Linked DNA regions of Homo sapiens: region 2 is linked to region 1. Evidence: promoter capture Hi-C in 16 types of primary human blood cells and fetal thymus (Javierre and others, 2016). All regions are on one chromosome and are shown on one strand. The core of a region is centred on a gene start or on the middle of the fragment in contact, and the rest is flanking DNA. Distances in the headings are between cores, read along the strand shown.

What was found. The method cuts DNA at HindIII sites, captures the fragments that hold promoters and counts their contacts. A CHiCAGO score of 5 or more calls a contact.
Region 2: a contact is called between a fragment that was not itself captured here and the fragment with the promoter of NHEJ1 in region 1, in 9 of 17 cell types (total CD8 T cells, naive CD4 T cells, naive CD8 T cells and 6 more). The highest score is 8.1, in total CD8 T cells.

Annotation. Positions count from the first base shown.
Region 1 is chr2:219,158,181-219,162,477 of GRCh38, forward strand. NHEJ1 (non-homologous end joining factor 1) reads right to left here and starts at 2,635. Exons shown (of 8, transcript NM_024782.3): 1 at 2,540-2,635; 2 at 6-182. The coding sequence starts at 182. It overlaps SLC23A3 (solute carrier family 23 member 3), which reads right to left. Exons shown (of 12, transcript NM_001144889.2): 11 at 4,119-4,214; 12 at 3,285-4,024. The coding sequence ends at 3,729. RefSeq lists a silencer at 2,300-2,419. The HindIII fragment of the contact is 12,472 bases long and covers 1,870-4,297 here.
Region 2 is chr2:219,047,440-219,051,910 of GRCh38, forward strand. LOC107985987 (a long non-coding RNA gene) reads right to left here and starts at 4,384. Exons shown (of 3, transcript XR_001739887.1): 1 at 4,005-4,384; 2 at 1,627-1,688; 3 at 1-1,358. The HindIII fragment of the contact is 4,057 bases long and covers 617-4,471 here.

The DNA of each region.
Region 1 (4,297 bases), core at 1,385-3,884:
CTTACCTTGGCTCGCTGGCTGACCACACTAGTGTCCACCTGTTCATGCCACACCTGTTGAAGATCTGAAACCAACAAGGCATAGCCCTGCTTGGTGATAAAAACCTTGGCCAAGAGGGAGTTCTCTGCAAGCTGTAGCCACGCCCATGGCTGCATCAACAGGCCTTGCTCCAGTTCTTCCATCTGCAAAAAAGTCCTCATTTAGTAAAGAGCCTCAGGGTCATGCTGGCCTAGGGAGGGCACCACCCAAACCAGTCTGTATCAACTAAAATCTCATGAAAATCCTCCCTGATAAAATAGAAGGCATGGATTTACGTTCTCCCAGTATACAACCAGCTGAGCACTGACTTTACTACCTCCTGGCCACTAAAAGTATATTTAAAATCTTGAGGGTTTTTTTTTTCCCATATTACATTCCTAGAGGACAGAAAATCTTTCTTCCATAGTGTTTAAACCTCAGCATATTGCTGTTAGTATTTCTGCTTTCTAATACTATAACATAACGTGGAAACCTAAACCCTTCTTGTTCCATCTTTATCACATTCCTAATAAATATGTCACTCCTATCCTTTCCCAGAACTAGAAGAGAAGGAATAGTTCTTGTCTTATAAAACATCATAAGTCATAGTGTCAGGGCCAGGAAATTCGAAGTATTTGATCATTATCTAAAAACAAAGTTTAGGAAGCTCTCAGGATTTTTTTAAAAATCCCTAAAACAGGTTCTTAATCTAGAGTCAATGCATGTGAATCCTCTAGAATTATATGAAAATGTTATGTGTACACGCATATATGCATGGGGAGGGGGAAGAGGTCTACAGCTATCATCAAACTCTCAGGGATCGATGACACAAAAAAGAGCTAAGAACCTGTGTCCAGGAGCAACAGAAAAGACCTAAATTTCATTTCAACAAAAACCAGAATGACTAGGAAATCATGAATACAAGGCAGAGCACATCACAGAGGTAAAGACTGAATTAACTTCCACTTAACTCATCCTCCACATTCCCACTCCAGTGCACTGCCACCAATGACAACATGCCCAGCCTGGAACCCCTGCAAAACAACTTTTCTATCTCAGCAGCTAAAGTAGTAGGCTTAACCTAGTAGACAATCAGAACTACGGCTGCTTGACAGAGAATGTGATTGTTTTTCCTGTGGGGGAGAAAAAAATATGTCAATTTCCTTCATTATTCCAGTCTACAAATATAAAATGAACAGAAGTACCAGGAAGGAAAAATTTAGAATGTAAATAATGAAATTCCTTATTAAGTCTGATTAACACAGTCATTTCCCCTAGCTTTTGAAGTGTGCCCTTGTGACTTGTGACATAACTTTATATATATATGCATATATATATGCATATATATATATGCATATATATATGCATATATATATGCATATATATATGCATATATATATATGCATATATATACATATACGTGGTGATCTTTCTTTATGGCATCCTCAAAGCCTTGTGTTTGGAGGATGGTGTTTCCGTCACATTTCCCACATGCTGCTCTTATGGGGACAGAAGTGGTCATGGGATGATTAAGCTAGTCCTAGCCGGACAAGAGCTCCACAATGCCAAAGGTCACAAACGCGAATAAAGTCGCCACTTTCATCTCCCTTATAGGCACTCCCCAGTGTACTCTTAACAGTTGCCAAAATTGGGTTTACTATTCTAGCCCATTCCTTCGGAAAGCCCGGAAGCTCAGAACCCTCAAATTGATGGGTTTTGTTTGTCTGTTGGGTAAAGGGGGAGGAGTTTAAAATGTGGCCAGGAGTAACGGGCCCTATAAAAAGGCCTGACACATTGGGCACCAGACCCCGGCTGCCTGCTCCCACCACACGCGTCCCGTTCTGCGTCCGAAGCTTCTACACTTCATCCTTTTCTTTTTTCCTTCAAGGCTGCCTCTAACATTCACATTAACGAGATTCACGGGTTTATTTCTCTTGAGTGGAGGGGCGCTGAGCGGCATCCCGGCGGAGGGGTCCCTTGAGAACCTTTATCTGCACCGAGTCCGCTCCTCAGCAGTGACCCCTCTGGGCAGTTCCTCCGACGCCCTGCAGAGGGCAGTAGAGGCCCAGAGAGCATCCCGGCTGGGCCCCGCCCGGTCCCCCTGGGACAGCGCGAACCCTAGGTCCCACCACAACCATAGCCCCACCCCAGGAGCCGCCAGGCGTCCCGCTTCCACCCGCCCCAGCTATAACAGCCTTCGCTGTCCGCCTTCCCATTTCTACAGCACTGGCTGCACTGGGGCGCGGCTTCAAGGGGCAACAAAGCCGGCCACCAGCGGCTTCGTCGCACCAAACAGGCGACCAACGAGTACCTTCACTCGAGCCCTACCATCCACGCCGGGCAGCAGCCAGCGGACTGCGCACGCGCGGCCCCGCCCACCCCTCCCCCGGAGGCCTGCCCTGGACCCCGGCAGCGCGCGCTCCCTCCAGGGAGAAAAGGCCAGCGCCAGGGCCAACCCGCAGCGTCTGAGCAGCCCCTCGCTGGCTTGCTCCTGCCCGGACTCGAACGCGATTCCACCTACCGTCAGCGGCCGCGAGAGCGCCCACTCTCTTAGCCGCACGCACGCTTTCCTGCCCGCTCGCGCAAACCGAAAGGCCTAGAGTAAGAGGCCGCTTTCCCCCCACCGCAAGAGGAGGCAGGGTCTTGGGATACAGGGGCGGGGCCTATGCCTGGCGTGGGCGGGGCTTCTGGGCCTGGGACACTGATGAGAGGAGCGCCCCAGTGGCCAGGGTAAGTGGAGGAGAGGCCGGGCAGCCGGCTAGTAGAAGGGTAGTGGCGCGTCTTGGAGTCACGCTGGCCGAGTGGAAAGAATAGCGGGCGAGGCGCAGGAGAGGGGAGCCCAGGTTTGGATTTGTCAAACTTGAGTCACTTCTCTTCCCTCCCCTACCTATCCGGTCTCTTTTTAACAAAATAAGGGATTGAACTTCTGTAGATGATCTCTCAGGTCCTCCACCAGCACTAGAGTTGTTGAAGGAAGGAGTCTCCCAGGCATAAGTCCCATAGTCCGACCTCATCCTTTACCTCTCCTGCTTCATTTCTCCATCATCCCCGTACTTATACTCCCTCACTACTGAGAAATTTGAAACCCCTCACCTATCTTGGACTTTGTACAACCCATGGCTTTGCTCAAGCTGGACCCCGAACCTGAAAACTTCTCTGCATCCATTTTCCAAAACCAAAAATCCTCATTTGTCAAGGCCATCCTCATTGCTTCTTGCATAAAGCCTTTCCCACTGTCCCCAATCAGAATTCATTATCCCTTCCTCTTTGCTCCCACGGCATTATTTTAATCTTTATTACAGACTGCTTTCTGCTTTGCATTTTCGTTAGTAATTACAAAGGTCTTTTTAAACCGTAAATGCCTTGAGACGGCATGGACCCTGTCTTATCCCTGTAGTTCCAGGACCTTGCACATGGGAGATGCTCAGTAAGTATTAAAGTGAATGCTGGGGTTCAAGTGGCATTGATAGTACACAGGCAAAATCTCAATCATTCATGGTCCACTAAATCATGGCCTCTGCTCTGGAACAGTTAGGCCTAATTAAGACAAGGAAAGGCAACCCACCCTATTGGGAAATGGAACCTCTAGACAGTCCCATGTAATACACACACACATATCCTCTGCCTACAAGAAAGAACAGTTTGGGAGCTGACTCTCCAGCAGATGAGAGTTAGGGCTAAATTAACCAGGGCAGAAGTAGGCGTTCTGGTCATTTCTGGGACCTAAACCCTTCTCTGCTAGATTCAGGGCATGGCTCCCCTGAGCCAGGCAGCAAGTCTGCCATCTCTTCTGGCTCAGAGGAGCCTCCTTCCTCATCCCCAGGGTCTTCAGGCAGTGGGCAGAGGCAGTGGAGAGGCTGGGGGATGCAGGGACAGAGGTTTTGGATGGGGAAAGGAAGTCTGTACACTTGAGCAGCCTTCTCCCTGGGCTTCTGAGGCATTCGAGCCTCTTGGGCAGTGAAAGGAGATGGTAGCCCTTGACCTAGGCCTCGCTCAAGCTGTGTGCCTGCAAAAGAGAGGTTTGTCAGGCTATTGCCCATCCCAGGGAGGGATGGCTTCCTGGCCACTCCCCAGTCTGCTAGGGCCTAGCCTCAACTTACCAGGAATCGTGTTCTCTAGTAGGAAGCCTGAGAGTCCAGCCAGGAAGATGGGCTGTGTCAGCAGTGAGTGCAGTAATACATCCAAGGGGCTCCAGCCTATGAAGAGTTGGGGCCAGGCAGGAAGGGAACTCTGATCCTATATCCAAGCCCAGGAGTCTTACCCTCCCAGACCTAAACCT
Region 2 (4,471 bases), core at 1,395-3,894, 110 kb before region 1:
TTTGTGTCATGATTTCTCATGATTAGAGTGAGGATAACACAGAGGTGATATTACCTTCTCAGAGCACTATATCATAGTGTTGATATGTATTATCAGTGATGCTAACTTGATAACTTGGCTAAAGTGGTATCTGTTGGGATTCTCCACTGTAAAGTTTCTATTTCTCTCTCTTTTTAGATTTTGGTCATCCCCATCTTTTGCTTCTCTAGGATTAATAGGTTGAAACCAAGAACCCTGTCCTCACACTATCCTTTCCACCCCTACACTCCCACTCTCCCAAGCCACACCCATTCCTTATCACCTACCTGGTTCCTTTCCTCTGAGTTTTTCCAAGTTGGCCATTCAGAAGTGTGTGCAGAAGCCAGATGCAGATGCACCTGGAGTTTGTTAGGGGAACAGGGTACTTTCTGAACCTTCTTGCTGAGGTCCTGCATTTTCTGCTTGCAGGGACATTCTGAGCAAATGTGACCAGCAATGGACCACAGGCATGTCCAACCCCATTCCCAGCTCTGTCTGCAACCCTTGAGCACTTTCTTCAACATTTGACGTTTGGGTTTTAAAAATCTCTAATCGCATTTCTCTCCAATCAGCCATGTATAACTTCTTGCTAATCACAAGCTTGTATCCATGAGCTTCCTTCCTTCTAGAATCACTGCAAAGCTCCTCACTTCTGCAGAGGTCCTGCCAGAAGGGCAGACGTACAGTTGATTTTTTCAATCAACTGAATATGGAGAGATGCGCTCATCCAATCCTCCCCTTTGTCACCACCTCCATCTGCCCCGAGTTTATTCCATTTCAGAGTTTTCTTGTGCTGCCCCTTCAGATGACAAAGGGTTAGGCCACACCTCCTCCAGGCTCATGCAATCTCCATTTTAAAAAGCCTTTGTGCCAAACTGTGTTTTGAGGCTCTGGAAAGCCTCAGGAGATGCCTTCATTAGTCCACATTCCCTCTTTGCCCTTTGTCCTGGTTACTATTGCTGTGTAAGGAGTTACTCCAAAATGTCAAGGTTCCAAACAGCCATTTTATTTTGTGGTTTTGTGAGTCAGGAATTCAGAAGCAGCTTGGCCATGTAGCTCTAGCTTGGGGTCTCTCATGTGGTTGCATTCAGAAGTTGGCCAGGGCTGCAGCCATCTGCAGCCAACCCAACTGGGCTGAATATCCAATATGGCGCACTCCCATGGCTGACAATTGGCTCTGGCTGTTAGCTGGGATGTCAGCTGGACCATGGACTGGAACACCTCTCTATAGGTTAGGTGCACACACTCTCCAGCATGGCGGTCTTAGTGTAGAATCAGGCAGAAGCTGCATGGCCTTTCTGACCTAGCCTCAGATCAGATTTGAGGTAGACCCGGCATCTCTACAGGAGAAGTGTCAAAGAATTTGTGGACATATTTTGACCGTCCCCCCCACCGCCCCTGCCACCCAACCCTATCCTAGATCTCCTCACAGCACTTAGAACATTATTCCTCCAGGACTCCCTTCTCTAACAGGGTTCTGGTTACTCCCAGGCTCATCAGTCCTTTAGGCTGAGGTGAGGAGTATGTCCCTCCCATCCCCTTGGTTTGCTGCTGCTGGAGACCCGGGTTCTGGTCTGCTAATGTTTGATTTTAAGAAAATGACTTCACCTCTGTGGGCCTCTGTTTCTTCAACTGCAAAGTAGGAATTAGGAACAACTTCATGTCACACACTGTTAGGATGAGAAAAGATCATGTAAATACCACACGTAGTGCACCTAATCGATAGTAGGTGCATAGTAGATTATGGGAGAAATGGCTGTGGGCAAGGCATTTTCCCTCTTGGGGCCTTGCTTTACTTATCTCTGAAATGTGGGTAATAATTCCCCTATTCTGCTTCCCCATACGGACGAGAGAGCTCTTGAATAGGCTGCAGGGAAGGCCAGCCCAGAGGTCAAACCCTGGCCCAGCTGGGCAGAAGGCCCAGCTGGGGTAGATGGGATGTGCATGCGTGCCAGGCAGCAGGTGTGACTCAGGCCGGTGAGGCACTCAGGGAGGGGCTATATCTACCCAACTGAGCCTTATCAGATCCGGGCTCCCCACCACTTGGCCCCATAAAACAAAGAGGCTTTGAGAACCAGGCTGAGGTGTGGGAGGTGGGGCTGAGCCTCAGAAGGCACAACCACCCAGGGGCCAGAGGGCACAGGCTGGGGAGCTGCCACCACCTACCCTGCCAAGGAGGTTTGCCCTGAAGGGGCGCCCCTCCAGGTGGGAAGCTGGGTCTATGTTCTCCAGAGAAGGCCTCCATTGCTGGAGCCCAGCCTTCTTTGGGGCACTACCCGCTGGGGCATTTCCCTCCAGGCCCTCAACTCCACTCTTGCCATGGGATACAGCATTTCCCTCCCCTACCTCCCATTTTGAAGTCTCCCCTCATCAAACTTCTAGCCCCAACTACACTGGCTCCCAGTCCCTGGGCATGCCCTGAACTTCCCCTCTGTACATCTGCTCCTGATGATACACCCACCTGCCCTTGCCCAAGTCACTCATACCCCTGAAGACCCAGGCCAACACCAACCCCAGGAAGTCTCTGAGCATTGCGCATCCTGCCCCCAGTCCTGTCTAATCACTCTGCACTTCCTCTGGCGTCACACTGTATGTAGCTTCTCTCTGAATCTTCATCCCTGGCAGAATCTGCTGAGCCTGGCAGAAGCCCAGGCCCACCAGGACCAGAATTGATGGTTGTAAAAGTTGTACACTGCACAAGGGCTCTAGGCTGAGGGAGCAGGGGGACTGAAATCCAGACACGCTCTGAAAGCCCCAGCATATACCCTGGGCTAGAGTCTCTTCTAAATGGACTTCCTGCTCCTGGCACCAGACCAGGAGAGCTGCCTTTTCTAGTTGAGTATCCCTGAGGGGGCACTTCTTACTAAATATTTCAATGGAGGGCTCCTATTTCCAGTTCCCACACAGGTGGCATAGGTGCTAGCAGCAGGCTCTGCTGCCTAAAGGACGTGTGCATTGGGTTCAGCCCTTTCCAACACAGGACCACTCACTGTCAGAAGCCATTCCACCCTGAGACCTGTGTCTCTTAGGGAAGATGGCTGAGTGCAGGCCTGCAGGGCTTCCAAAGAGCCATGCCAGCAGTGAGTGGGGCTTTCCAAACAAAAGAGAGAAGGCTGTAAGGCCAGCTTGAGGAAGGGTACTTACGGAGAGGCCCCAGCACAGCCAGATAGGGGAACCAGGGTGCAGTGAGCTTCTATAGAAGGTAACTGGCCCAGGCAGCTCCAGATGCCTCGCAGCCAGGAAGTTCCCCCACTGTGACTCCTGGACCCTGACACTCCAGGTCCTCCCAGGGACCTGTGGACTTAGGCATAGTTCTTGCATTTTGCCTGGACTGGGATAGCAGAGGCTACTCTGAATTTCTTTCCCATGCATTTCCAAGATAGAGCAGAGAGGCAGGCAGACAGAACAGGTGCCTGGAGGGTCCCTTGAACCCCAGTAGACCCTTGGATGACAGGGAGAGAGTATATCTATATAGGAAAGCCCTGGACATCACCCTTACAGGTGCAGCCACTAAAGCCAAAGAAGACCAAGGTTCAAGGTCAAGGATGCTGGTGGTGGGGGAGCTGGATTTCCTACTTAAAACCCCCAAAGTTGACTTGGGCCCTTTTCTCATCCCCCTCGCTCATCCAACCCTGGCTTCCATCCTGGCCATTCTATTGCCTAAGTATCTACAATCCATCACCTTCTTTATGACCCTAGAGCCACTTCCCTGGTCTAGGACACCAACTCCCCAGTAGTGCTTCCATGATTGTCCTCTCTGGTCTGCCCTCCATACTGTAGCCAGATGAGCTTTTGGAAGCAACCTAGTCATGAGCTTCCCCTGTTTGAGGGCCCCTGGGATTGAGTCCTATTGCGTGCAACACAGGCTCTGTGTCATCTGCCTCCTGCCTACCTCTCCACTTTGGCTTTTGCCAAGCCCACGTGACCCACATAGCTTTACCATGCTGGCCTAATGGTGGTTCCTCTAAGCCCTCAAGCCCCCAAACCTTTTATTTAACTATGTCCTTAGCCTGGATCTCTTCCACATGCCTGCCAGGAAAACTCCTTCTTGCCCCATTTGTAGCATCCTCGTCTTCAGGAAGTCTTCCTAGTCACCAGCCACTCCATGGTGCTTCAGTAGCCACTGTGAGGATGTCAGCCACAGCAGTTAGTGCACCATGTGGATATCCCTGTCTCCCACACTTCTCCCTCCCAACTTAGGAGTTTACTGAGGGCAGGCACTGCCTCTTTTCCCCAACTCAGGCACAGTGCCTGACATGGAGTGGCATCCATTAACATTGACTATGAGATTGGCCGGCCGCGGTGGCTCACGTCTGTAATCTCAGCACTTTGGGAGGCTGAGGTGGGCAGATCATTTGAGGCCAGGAATTTGAGACCAGCCTGGCCAACATGGCAAAACCCCATCTCTACTAAAAATACAAAAAATTAACTGGGTTTGGTATGGCACACGCCT